3 separate regions of the Homo sapiens genome follow, and regions 1 and 3 are each linked to region 2. The links are contacts of gene promoters, found by promoter capture Hi-C in human tissues and cell types (Jung and others, 2019). All regions are on one chromosome and are shown on one strand. The core of a region is centred on a gene start or on the middle of the fragment in contact, and the rest is flanking DNA. Distances in the headings are between cores, read along the strand shown.

What was found. Contacts are between HindIII fragments. The study calls those that stand out against the background at their distance.
Region 1: a fragment that was not itself captured here is called in contact with the fragment with the promoter of ZFP90 in region 2 in 3 of the 25 tissues and cell types used here (dorsolateral prefrontal cortex, lymphoblastoid cells and mesenchymal stem cells).
Region 3: a contact is called between a fragment that was not itself captured here and the fragment with the promoter of ZFP90 in region 2, in 1 of the 25 tissues and cell types used here (neural progenitor cells).

Annotation. Positions count from the first base shown.
Region 1 is chr16:69,158,159-69,162,212 of GRCh38, reverse strand. It overlaps UTP4 (UTP4 small subunit processome component), which reads right to left. Exons shown (of 17, transcript NM_032830.3): 13 at 1,751-1,857. Among named protein-coding and RNA genes, the nearest start is that of SNTB2, 27 kb to the left of the region's middle. The HindIII fragment of the contact is 5,469 bases long and covers 1-4,054 here.
Region 2 is chr16:68,536,441-68,540,746 of GRCh38, reverse strand. It overlaps ZFP90 (ZFP90 zinc finger protein), which reads right to left and starts at 1,456. Exons shown (of 5, transcript NM_001305203.2): 1 at 1,268-1,456; 2 at 922-989. The coding sequence starts at 954. The HindIII fragment of the contact is 20,432 bases long and covers 1-4,306 here.
Region 3 is chr16:69,066,191-69,070,342 of GRCh38, reverse strand. The region is part of intron 17 of TANGO6 (transport and golgi organization 6 homolog); the gene reads right to left. Among named protein-coding and RNA genes, the nearest start is that of HAS3, 37 kb to the left of the region's middle. The HindIII fragment of the contact is 7,887 bases long and covers 1-4,152 here.

The sequences.
Region 1 (4,054 bases), core at 1,206-3,705, 620 kb before region 2:
GGCGGATCACGAGGTCAGGAGTTTGAGACCAGCCTGGCCAACATGGTGAAACCCCATCTCTACCAAAAATTAAAAAAATTAGCTGGGTGTGGTGGCGTGCACCTGTAATCCCAGCTACTCAGGAGGGTGAGGCAGGAGAATCACTTGAACCTAGGAGGCGGAGGTTGCAGTGAGCAGAGACTGCGCCACCACACTCCAGCCTGGGCAACAGTGCAAGACTCAATCTCAAAAAAAAAACAAAAGGCCTATTGGCTGGGCGCAGTGGCTCACACCTGTAACTACAGCACTTCGGAAGGGCCAGGGCGGGAGGAACGCTTGAGTCCAGGAGTTCAAGACCAGCCTGGGCAACACAGCAAAACCTCATCTCTACTAAAAAAAAAGATTAGCTAGGTGTGGTGGGACTCGCCTGTAGTCCCAGCTACTCAGGACACTGAGGTGGAAGGATCGCTTGAGCAGAGAGGTCAAGGCTGCAGTGAGCTGTGACTGTGCCACTGCACTCAGTCTGGGTGACAGAGTGAAACCCTGTCTCAAAAAAATAAAAAGCTTATTTAACCGCGTACAAAACTAACAGCGTTTGTGGAGAACTGAGAGTAAAGCCTTTCCCTCTGAGTAAATCCATCTGTACAAACTGCTTATAAATGTGTCATTGAATAGGGAGTCTACAGCTCTACACCAGGTTTAAAATAAATAAATGCCTAGGCATGGATTTTTATGTACAATTGCAAAGCATGTGCACGCTACACACAAACACTCTTTAAATGCCAGGCAAGGCTCAAAGACAAGTGCTCAGTACATGCTCCTACCATAATGCAACAAAGGTTACACTATGCAGTTAACAGGTAAACCCATTAAGTGTTGCAGTTTGATGTTATTCTATACACTTTTAATGCTTATTCCAAGTTTTGGGTAGTTCGAATCTGATTCTTATAATGAAGATGAGGACTTGTAAGGGATCACTAATGACTCAATTTATGACTGACAGCGTCATTACTGATTAGTGAAAAATGTTTTCCCAGTATTCCTTTTTCGAAGTTTTGATTATGTTTACCTTGAGATTACAAGGCAAGCCATGAAAGGAACTCTTATTATCTGCAACTATTTGTCTGTGTATATCAGAATTTTCCTCCCGAAAATACAGAAAGAACCTGGATGTGTTTACATCACCCACAGATCATTAATTTCAAATTTCCAGGTATGAATGGGTTTCACTGTTTCCATTAGCTGCTTTTAATGTTACACAGTATAGCTTCCGGGTTCCATAAAAATAAAACAGGATTCCAAACCTGGAAAAATTATTAGTTAAAAAGAAAAAAGTCTGGCCAGGCGCGGTGGCTCATGCCTGTAATCCTAGCACTTTGGGAGGCCGAGGTGGGCGGATTGCCTGAGCTCAGGAGTTCAAGGTCAGCCTGAGCAACACGGTGAAACCCTGTCTCTATTAAAATACAAAAATTAGCCAGGTGTGGAGGCACACACCTGTAATCCCAGCTACTCAGGAGGCTGAGACAGGAGAATCATTTGAACCCGGGAGGCTGAGGTTGCAGTGAGCCGAGATCGCGCCACTGCACTCTAGCCTGGGTGACAGAGTAAGACTTTGTCTCAAAAAAAAAAAAAAAAGAAAAGAAAAGAAAATAAAAAGAAAAAAGTCTAATAAATTTCCAGGTCATGCCAATCTGCCTTGAATCTTGTAACTGCAGGGTGAACTGGCTCCTGTACAATGATTCAAACTGCTGCCATGAAACCCTATGCTCACCTTTAGCTGTTTTACGTTGTAGACATGGACTCCAGCACTGGTACCTGATGCAGCTAGCCAATTCCCATCTGGACTGACTGCCAAAAGACACATGGCCTCCACTGTTCCTGTGAGGACAAAACAGTTACATCTCTGAATTCACACAGTGTCCACAGCCAGACCTGCCCTGGAGATGATGGCAAAAGCCAAGGAGACCATTAGAGTTTTAAATCACTGCCAGGATAATTTGCTGATCACTGTGCAAATTACTTCTAGATGTTAATGTTTCTACTTTTTTCATCTACTTATTTAACCATCCCGCCTGTAAAGAAGGTCCAGAGAGATAAAACAGAAGTTATTACTTCCTCAGGCCTAAGACACTGCTTACTACAGGAATAGAGAATGACGGCAGCATCTGCCACTAAAATATATACTTTAATTGTTTCAAACTCCTTTCCTACCAAATGGTTTTTTTTCTGTTTTTTGTTTTTTTTTTTTTGAGATGGAGTCTAGCTCTGTCACTCGGGCTGGAGTGCAGTGGCGGATCCGCTCACTCCAACCTCCAACTCCCAAATTCAAGTGATTCACCCGCCTCAGCCTCCTGACTAGCTGGGATTACAGGCACCCACCACCATGCCTGGCTAATTTTTGTATTTTTAGTAGAGATGGGGTTTCACCATGTTGGCTGGGCTGGTCTTGAACTCCTGACCTCAGATGATCCGCCCACCTTGGCCTCCCAAAGTGCTGGGATTACAGGCGTGAGCCACCGTGCCTGGCCTCTTTCTTTTTTCTTTTTTTAGACGGAGTCTCACTCTGTTGTCAGGCTGGAGTGCAGTGGTGCAATCTCGGCTCACTGCAACCTCTGCCTCTCGGGTTCAAGCCATTCTCCTGCCTCAGCCTCCCAAGTAGCTGGGACTACAGGCGTGCACCACCACACCCAGCTAATTTTTGTATATTTAGTAGAGATGGGGTTTCACCATTTTGGTCAGCATGGTCTCGATCTCTTGACCTTATGATCTGCCCACCTCGGCCTCCAAAAGTGCTGGGAGGTGTGAGCCACTGTGCCCGGCCCCTAAATTTTTTTTAAGCCAAAATTATGGACAGGCCAGGCGTGGTAGCTCACACCTGTAATCCCAGCACTTTGGGAGGCAGAGGTAGGTGGATTACCTGAGGTCAGGAGTTCAAGACCAGCCTGGCCAAGATGGTGAAACCCCATCTCTACTAAGAGTACAAAAAAAAAATAGCTGGGCGTGGTTGTGGGTGCCTGTAATCCCAGCTACTAGGGAGGCTGAGGCAGGAGAATCACTTGAACCTGGGAGGCAAAGGTTGCAGTGAGCCGAGATGGCACCAATGCACTCCAGCCTGGGCACAAGAAACTCTGTCTTTTGAAATTCTATCTCAAAAATAAATAAATTAATAATAAAAAAAAAAGTTACGGACAAACAGCAAGTTCAATAGACTTGAAGCATATCTTTAATTTATTGGATGCCTGCTGTGTATTTAGCACTAAGGGAGGATGGGCACGTCTGAGCCATCTTTGTCATCTAGAGACTTTAAACCAATCTGGCAACACGACAACTAGTGTGGGATAAAAATTGGACAGTGATGCTCTATGCCAAAATGCGTGCTGCATGTAACGCCCCCAAACGATAACATGGCTTTATAACAAGCATAACCCAGCTGCCAAAGGATGGGTGGGGATGAGGAAAAAAGGATGGGGAACAGTGCAAGCTAAGTGACGAGGAGTAGAATATGCAGGTTTGAGAGCTGTGAAGAAACCATTTTGACTACAAGGGGAAGTGAGATGAGAGAAGTGGAAAAAATAAAGTCATATACATAATGTAGAGTCGAATCTCAAGGAGAGCTAGATATAAGATAAATAGCCTAAGTTTTGTAATAAAAACATATATAGATAATAAATAGTTTGATTTATCTGACCCCTAACTTGTGGGTTTCTTCTCCTGTAGGCTTCTGGATCAGCTTATGAACAGTGAGAGTTGAAGATAAAAGAGTTGACTTTCACTAGGCATGGTGACTCACACCTGTAATCCTAGCACTTTGGGAGGCTGAGGCAGGAGGATTGCTTCAGCCCAGGAGTTTAAGACCAGGATGGGCAACATGGTGAAACCCTGTCTCTACAAAAATACAAAACTTAGCTGGGTGTGGTGGTATGCTCCTGTGTACTTGGGAGGCTGAGGTGGAAGGATTTTCTGAGCCTGGGGAGGGTGAGGCTGCAGTGAGCCATGATCGCACCACTGCACTCCAGCCTCGGCAACAGAGTGAGGCCATCTCAAAAAAAAAAAAAAAAAAAAAAAAAAAAAAGAG
Region 2 (4,306 bases), core at 207-2,706:
TATTGCCTCAGCTTCCCAAAGTGCTGGACTTACAGGTGTGACCCACTGTACCTGGCAACTTGGTATTTTTATTTGAATTGATCTTGATGTCTCACACACCTAGCAACTACAATCTGTCATTTTCCCTTAATTCTAAAGAGAATGTAGATTCAAAGATACAGATACCATCTGGATCTTGATGTATTTTCACCAATATGTAAATCAATGGATAACCTTAGAGTTGTGACGCTTCTAGAAAATGCCCCCTCTGCCACAAGAATAAATGGGTTCACGAATCAGCCTCACATTAAGGTGAAGGCTGGACTTCTGGCGGTGGGGAGTGAGTTGCTCTATTACATTTTTGTTAAAGCAGAAAAGGACAGACACAAAAAGCTCTGGGAGAATCAGCCCTGGTTTTATTTTTGGTTGTTTTTTATTTTGTTTTGTTTTTGCCTCCTTGCCCAAGAAAGCCCATCTCCAGCCTCTTCCTAGACATGTTCTAACCAGGCTTCTACGGCCCCTTACGGACTCTCTATGGGCCCTGGGTCAGAAGCTGGGGCTCCTCTCTCCACACTTGCCGACAGTCACTTCCTCCTCTACAGTGTTCCATCCTGTGACCCCACTCTCTCCATTTCTTATTGACAAGAGTTCAAAAAACTGGCGTGGCATTCAGGACTCTCAAAACTGACACTTCCCAACGCATCCAATCTCAACTCCTCCCACAAGATCGCACCACACTGGCCCTCTCTACCCCACAGAGCAGCCTCCCCTTTGGGAATCCAGCTCCCCAAAGCCTGGGGTTTTCCATGGCCAGGAGGCTCCGATCGAGCCAAGCAAGTAAGGGAGTCGCCAGGCAGAGAACAATGACTGCTCCAAACACCCTTGGGAGATGGGATGGATAGATGGATGGGATGCCCAGGAGGTTAGGAACGCGTTGCTCACCTGGGGCGCGGCGGTCGGAGGCCTCGGGGCCATTCCTGCCTCGCCAGGGCCCGGCTCCGGGGCAGGAGCTGGGGAGAAAGGACAGGGCCCACTCACCCCGCTGCAACACCGACCCCACCCCGCCCCGCCCCGCCCCACCTCCGCCCCTAAACCACATCTCCAGGGGAGATGGTGGCGAGGACCGTGGAACCAGCCCGGGCCTGCCGCTCCCCATCCCCGAAATGAAAGGCTCAGCGGCCTCCCGGACACCCCCCTCCGGCCACGCCCAGTCCCCTTCGCAGGGTGGTGGGCGAGGCCCGGCTGACACCCGCCAAACCCAGGAGGGGTCCCGCCCAGACCCGCGCACTCAGAATCACCGCCTCTGGGGGGCTCCGGATTTCGCGACCTCCGGCCCACCCAGAGCCTCGGGCAGCTCCTCCCGCCCCCGCCGAAGCCTCGGTTATCTCCAATTCTGATCTGCGGAGGGGCTGCCCAAAGGGGCCTCAGCCGCACCGGGGTCGGACAATGGCCGCAGCGGTGGGGCAGAACTGGAAGTGCGCCTGCGCACTCGGAGCCTCGCTCCTGCAACCCCGGGTCCACGCCGGGCGCGCGAACTACACTTCCCAGAGGCCCGCGCGCGCAGGCCCCGCCTAGGCGGCTTCCGAAGGCGCGTTAGGGACCCTTGCGAGGGCCGAGGGAGGCGGCCAGTGTGGCTCGAGTGTGCGTGTCCCTGTATTCCAGTCACTGTCCGCCTCCTCTTTGCAAGGGGCTTGTTGCTAGCTGGGGAATCGGCCGGGAAAGACCCTGGTTTCGGGGAGCAATCGTACGCCCCTTTCGACGAGGCTGACGATAAAAACGCAAACATGTCAACAAGATAATGTCAGGTCCTGACTTCAGCGGTAAGAGTGACACAGGAAGGGAGTGAGACAGCGTCAGAGGGTGGGGCATTTACATCTTCTTCAAAAGGCAATTTTCCATTTCTCATTTTAGAGAAAAAAGAAACTTCGGACAAATCCGTGGCCTCCTGAGCAATGTGCAAAGGCAGATCTACTGCCGTGTTATTTCATTACTTCGTATCCCCTTACGCAGGATTTTGTTTGGGACAAGCAAACAATGATGGAAATTTTCTTTTTTTTTTTTGAGACACAGTTTCGCTCTTGTTGCCTAGGTTGGAGTGCAATGGCGCGATTTTGGCTCACCGCAGCCTCCGCCTCCTGGGTTCAAGCGATTCTCCCGCCTCAGCCTCCCGAGTAGCTGGGATTACAGGCATGCGATGCGTCACCAGGCCCGTCTAATTTTGTATATTTAGTAGAGACAGGTTTTCTCCATGTTGGTCATGCTGGTCTCGAACTCGCCTCGGCCTCCCAAAGTGCTGGGATTACAGGCATGGGCAACCGCGCCCGGCCCGATGGAAATTTTCAACACAAAGATAGGTCAACTTTTAGATACAGCTATTACGTTTATGTAATTATGTCTTATATATCACAGACATTCAGGCTACATTTCCTAGATTTCAGCTTGATTTCTTAACATTAGAGCATTGCATACCAACATGGTAGAAAATGACTGCAACGAAATGTTCCTGATGTCACACTGCTTTATCAAAAATATGAACATTCAAAAATAAATGCTTTATGCCGGGTGCGGTGGCTCAAGCCTGTGATCCCAGCACTTTGGGAGGCTGAGGCTGGCGGATCACCTGAGGTCAGGAGTTCGAGACCAGCCTGACCAACATGGAGATAGCTCGTCTCTACTAAAAATACAAAATTAGCCAGGCTTGGTGGCGCATGCCTGTAATCCCAGCTACTCAGAAAGCTGAGGCAGGAGAATCGCTTGAATCTGGGAGGCAGAGGTTGTGGTGAGCCGAGATTGCACCATTGCACTCCAACCTGGGCAACAACAGCAAAACTCCATCTCAAAAAAAACAAAACAAAAAAGGGAGAAAATTTCCATCACTGTTGGCTTGTCCCAAACACAAAATCCTGCGCAAGGGGCTAACAAGTAATGAAATAACACGTCAATAGCACAGGGAGGCTGAGGAGGGAGGAGCCCAGGAATTAAAAGACCAGCTTGGGCAACATGGCAAAACCCTGTCTCTACAAAAAATACAAACATTAACTGGTTGCAATAGTGTGCGCCTGTGGTCCCAGCTACTTGGGAGGCTGAGGTGGGAAGATCGTTTGAACCCGGGAAGCAGAGGTTGTGGTGGGCTGTGATTTCACCACAGCACTCCGACCTGGGCGACAAAGCGAGACTGTCTCAAAAAATATATATAAAAATTAATGAATGCTTTCTATCACTGCTTTGTGAATATAGTGGTCTGGAATTAGCAGAATGCATAATTCACAAGTATGAATTAGAGTGGACCGGGAGGCCTCTCTGAGGCAAGTGACTTAGTAGCTGCAACTTAAGGCAACTGCAGGCTGGGCATGGTGGCTCACGCCTGTAATCCCAGCACTTTGGGAGGCTGAGGGGGGCAGATCACTTGAGGTCAGGAGTTCGAGACCAGCCTGGCCAACATAGTAAAACCCCATCTCTACTAAACATACAAAAATTAGCAGGGTGTGGTGGCGTGCGCCTGTACTCACAGCTACTTGGGAGGCTGTAGCAGGGGAATCGCTTGAACCTGGGAGGTGGGGGTTGCAGTGAGCCAAGATTGCACCACTGCACTCCAACCTGGGTGAGAGATGGAGACTCTGTCTCAAAAAAAAAAAAGCCCAACAACAACAAAACAACTGCAGGTGCATAAGGGGAAAAGAATTCCAGGCTGAAGAAACTGAAGGTGCAAAAGCTGTCAGATGGGAACAAGCTTGGTGTGCTTAGGAACAGATAGATGCCTAATGTACCTTAGCAGAGTGAGGGATAAGAGAGTGAGCAGAGCAGAGGTAGGGCAGGTAGACTGGGACTTGATGGAACAAGGCTTTGGAGGTTGTGATGAGGGGTGTGGATTTTGAGTGTGATGAGAGCCATTGGCTTAGTAACAGCAGTGGAGTCACTTATTACTATGAGAGAATAAGAGGAATTTTTCCTACTGTCCCAGAATTGGTAACCAGGTCTCAAGAGTTGAGGATTAAGTTCTGCATTCTAAGGAAAGATGAAAACATTTGGGGTGAGAACCTCTCAGGTCTTATCAAAGGAAGCTGGGTGCTGAATTCTGAATTTGCTGTTACTATTAACCACTGACGCAATGCCACCCCTCTTTTCCCAGGCTATATAAGAGTATGACGGGAAAGAAAAGGAAAAATCCGTACCCAGGCACAGTGGCCTATAATTCCCACACTTTGGGAGGCTGAGGAGGGAGGATCGCTTGAGCCTAGGCGTTCCAGACCATCCTGGTCAACATAGTGAGACCTTGTTTCTACAATAGTAATAATAATGCCAGGTGTGGTGGCATGCCGGTAGTCCC
Region 3 (4,152 bases), core at 927-3,426, 530 kb before region 2:
TTTTTCTATCCTATATATATAAGCATTGTACCTAGGGTGGACGTGTTCCTCCTCTTACTTTCAGGAATGCCCTACTCTGTCTATGGAGTAGCTATTCTTTCACTACTTTCTTTTCTTTTCTTTTTCTTTTTTTTTGAGAAGGAGTCTCGCTCTATCGCCGAGGCTGGAGTGCAGTGGCACGATCTCGGCTCACTGCAACCTCCGCTTCCTGGGTTCAAGTGATTCTCCTGCCTCAGCCTCCTGAGTAGCTGGGATTACAGGCACATGCCACACCTAGCTTTTTTTTTTTTTTTTTTTTAGTACAGACAGGGTTTTGCAATGTTGGTCAGGCTGGTCTTGAACTCCTGACCTCATGTGATCTGCCCGCCTCGGCCTCCCAAAGTGCTGGGATTACAGGCATGAGCCACCGTGCCTGGCCCACTACTTTATTTTCTTAATAAACTTGCTTTTACTTTGCAATGTGGACTCGCCCTGAATTCTTTCTTGCGCGAGATCCAAGATCCCTTTCTTGGGGTCTGGAATGGAGACCCCTTTCCTTGTAACAGTTGTATTTAGAAATTCAATATTCTATAGAAACAAGAGATGAAGCAAACAAAGATCAAAAAGAAAGAAGGCTACATTCCACACAATCCTATCAACCACCAATTGTGACTCCCTTTGTGGTTGAGAAATAAATAAGAGGCACAAAGACAAAAACAGAGGAATAACACGCAAGTTATACACCGAAATAATAAGACAGGTGAAGACAGGGGAAAGAGGTGAACTGGAGCTGGTGGCTGGAGATTGTCCTGGCAGAAAAAAAGATTCTCTAGATTGAGGTCCAGAAGAGAAGACTCCAGAATCCGACTAGTTCTGTTTAAAAACATGTTGGAATAAGCATTAGGTGTGGTATGAATCTGTCAGAAAGCAACAGTCCAACTTCTAAGCACCTTCATCTTGCCCAAGATGTGATTTTGTGGCTAAGAGATGTGAGAGGGAACAGATGAGACTATTACGGGGCAGAGAGTCAAGAATTGTCAGTAGAGAACAACTCAGCAAAATTTCCCACATTGTGTGCAGGAGACTAGGCTAAGTATTCTGCTGAATGGCTCCCACACCCAGGAGCTCACACCCTGTTGGGGAGGCAGACACACAGAATTAAGCCTAATGGTCAGGAGGCAGGCAAACTGAGTGAAGTGGACCCTAGAGCTCCCAATTATTAGCTAGGGAATCTTGAACAAACTACTTCACTTCTAGGAACCCCAGTGATCTCGTCTATAAAATGGGAATAAGTTTGCCTCCTGAAGGTTGCAATAAGAATTAATGTATCTAAAGATCCAAAAACATGGCTGGGTACGGTGGCTCATGCCTGTAATCCCAGCACTGTGGCAGGCTGAGGCGGGTGGATCACCTGAGGTCAGGAGTTCGAGACCAGCCTGGCCAACATGGCAAAACCCCTTCTCTACTAAAAATAGGAAAAAAATTACCTGGGCGTGGTGGCGGGCACCTGTAATCCCAGCTACACGGGAGGCTGAGGCAGAAGAATTGCTTGAATCTGGGAGGCGGAGGTTGCAGTGAGCCAAGATGGCGTCACCGCACTCCAGCCTGGGCGACAAGAGCGAGACTCCATCTCAAAACAACAACAAAAACAAAGATCCAAGCACAAGGAATTGCAAATGGTGGGTGCTAAAGAAGTGATGGTTTGTCAGTGAAGACTGTGACCTCTGTGAGGGCCAGGACTATGTCCATCCTGTAACTCTTACATCACTGAGGCCTGGAAGAGAGCCTAACATGCAGTAAATCTTTGAAGAATGAATGAATGGCAACGGTAGCTAATCCTTACATAGTACTTGGTATATGCCAGGTATGATTCCAGGCATTTTGTCTACATTAACTCAATCCCCACAACACAATTATCATTTCCAATTTGCCCAGGTTCACACAGCTAGTAATGGGTAGATCCAGGATTCAAACCCTGGTAGCCTGACTCCAGAGTAGTGTTCTTTATTAATCACTATACTGTACCGTCTCTCAAAGCGGTTTTTATTATGACTATTACTATTATTGAGACAGAGTCTCTCTGTACCCAGGCTGGGGTACAGTGGCACGATCATAGCTCACTGCATGCAGCCTTGAAGCTCAGGTGATCCTCCTGCCTCAGGCTCCCAAGCAGTTGGGACTATAGGTGTGCATCACCATGCTCAGGTAATTTTTTTTTTTTCAAGACAAGAGTCTTGCTCTGTTGCCCAGGCTGGAGTGCAGTGGTGTGATCTTGGCTCACCGCAACCTCTGCCTCCCAGATTCAAGCAATTCTTCTGCCTCAGCCTCCCGAGTAGCTGGGACTACAGGCATGTGCCACCATGCCTGGCTAATTTTTGTATTTTTAGTAGAGATGGGGTTTATTTTCTTTTTTTTTTTTTTTTTTTGAGACAGAGTTTCACTCTTGTTGTCCAGGCTGGAGTGCAGTGGTGCAATCTTGGCTCACCACAACCTCCGCCTCCTGGGTTCAAGCAATTCTCCTGCCTCAGCCTCCCGAGTAGCTGGGATTACAGTCATGTGCCACCACACCCAGCTAATTTTGTATTTTTAGTAGAGACAGGGTTTCTCCATGTTGGTCAGGCTGGTCTTGAACTCCCAACTTCAAGTGATCCGCCCGCCTCGGCCTCCCAAAGTGCTGGGATTAGAGGCATGAGCCACTGTGCCCGGCCAGTAGAGACAGGGTTTCACCATGTTGCCCAGGCTGGTCTCCAACTCCTGACCTCATGATCCGCCCGCCTTGGCCTCCCAAAGTGCTGGGATTATAGGCGTGTGCCACGGCGCCCAGCGTTTTTTTTTTTTTTTTTTTGAGATGGAGTTTTGCTCTTGTTGCCTAGGCTGGAGTTCAGTGGCGCAATCTTGGCTCACTGCAACCTTCACCTCCCAGGTCTCCAGGTTCAAGCGATTCTCCTGCCTCAGCCTCCTGAGTAGCTGGGATTACAGGCACCCGCCAACACGCCTGGCTAATTTTTTGTATTTTTAGTAGAGATGGGGTTTCACCATGTTGGCCAGGATGGTCTCGAATGCCTGACCTCAGGTGATCCACCCGTCTTGGCCTCCCAAAGTGCTGGGATAACAGGCATGAGCCACCGTGCCCAGCCTCAGCTAATAAAAAAAAAATTTTTTTTGTAGGCCAGGCACAGTAGCTCATACCTATGATCCCGGCACTTCGGGAGGTAAAGGTGAGAGGATTGCTTGAGCCCAGGAGTTTGAGGCCAGCCTGAGCAACACAGCAAGACCCTTTGTCTACAAGAAATAATAGAATTAGTCGGGCATGGTGTCACGCATTTGTGGTCCCAGCTACTTGGGAAGCTGAGGAGGGAAGATCACTTGAGCCTGGGTGGTTGAGGCTATACTGAGCCGTGATTGCACCACTGCATTCCAGCCAGGGTAACGAAGCAAGAAAGACCCTATCTCAAAAACAAAAACAAATTTTTTGTAGAGACGGGGTCTTGATATTTTGCCGAGGCTTGTCTTAAACTCCTGGCCTCAAGCAATCCCCCCACCTCAGCCTCTCAAAGTGGTTATTATTTTCACTACCATGGAGTGGGAGGCATAAGGCACATATAACCACCTACCTTACGAGTATATTGTGGGGATCAAAAAAGATAATGTATGTGAGAGTATTTCACTATCATCAGCAAAGTGATAAATAATTCAAAGTATTGTTATTATTACCACCACATTAAGAAAATTGGGTTTACCACCAAGGAATAAGAATAGGAGGGGAAGTCCGGGCGCGGTGGCTTATGCCTGTAATCCCAGCACTTTGGGAGGCCAAGGTGGGCAGATCACTTTAGGTCAGGAGTTCAAGACCAGCCTGGCCAACATGGTGAAACCCTGTCTCTACTAAAAATACAAAAAAACTAGCCGGGCATTGTGGTGTGTGCCTGTAATCCCAGCTACTTGGGAAGCTGAGGCCAGAGAACTGCTTGAACCTGGGAGGCAGAGGTTGCAGCGAGCCAAGATCACGCCATTGCACTCCAACCTGGGCAACAGAGCGAGACGCCATCTCAAAATAAATAAATAAATAAACAAATGAATGAATGAATGAATAGGAGGGGGAAAGGCACAGCTCTGAAAACAAAGACTAGAGAGGAGAAGCCAAAGGCAGAGTGGCTGGGCAGATGAATAAAT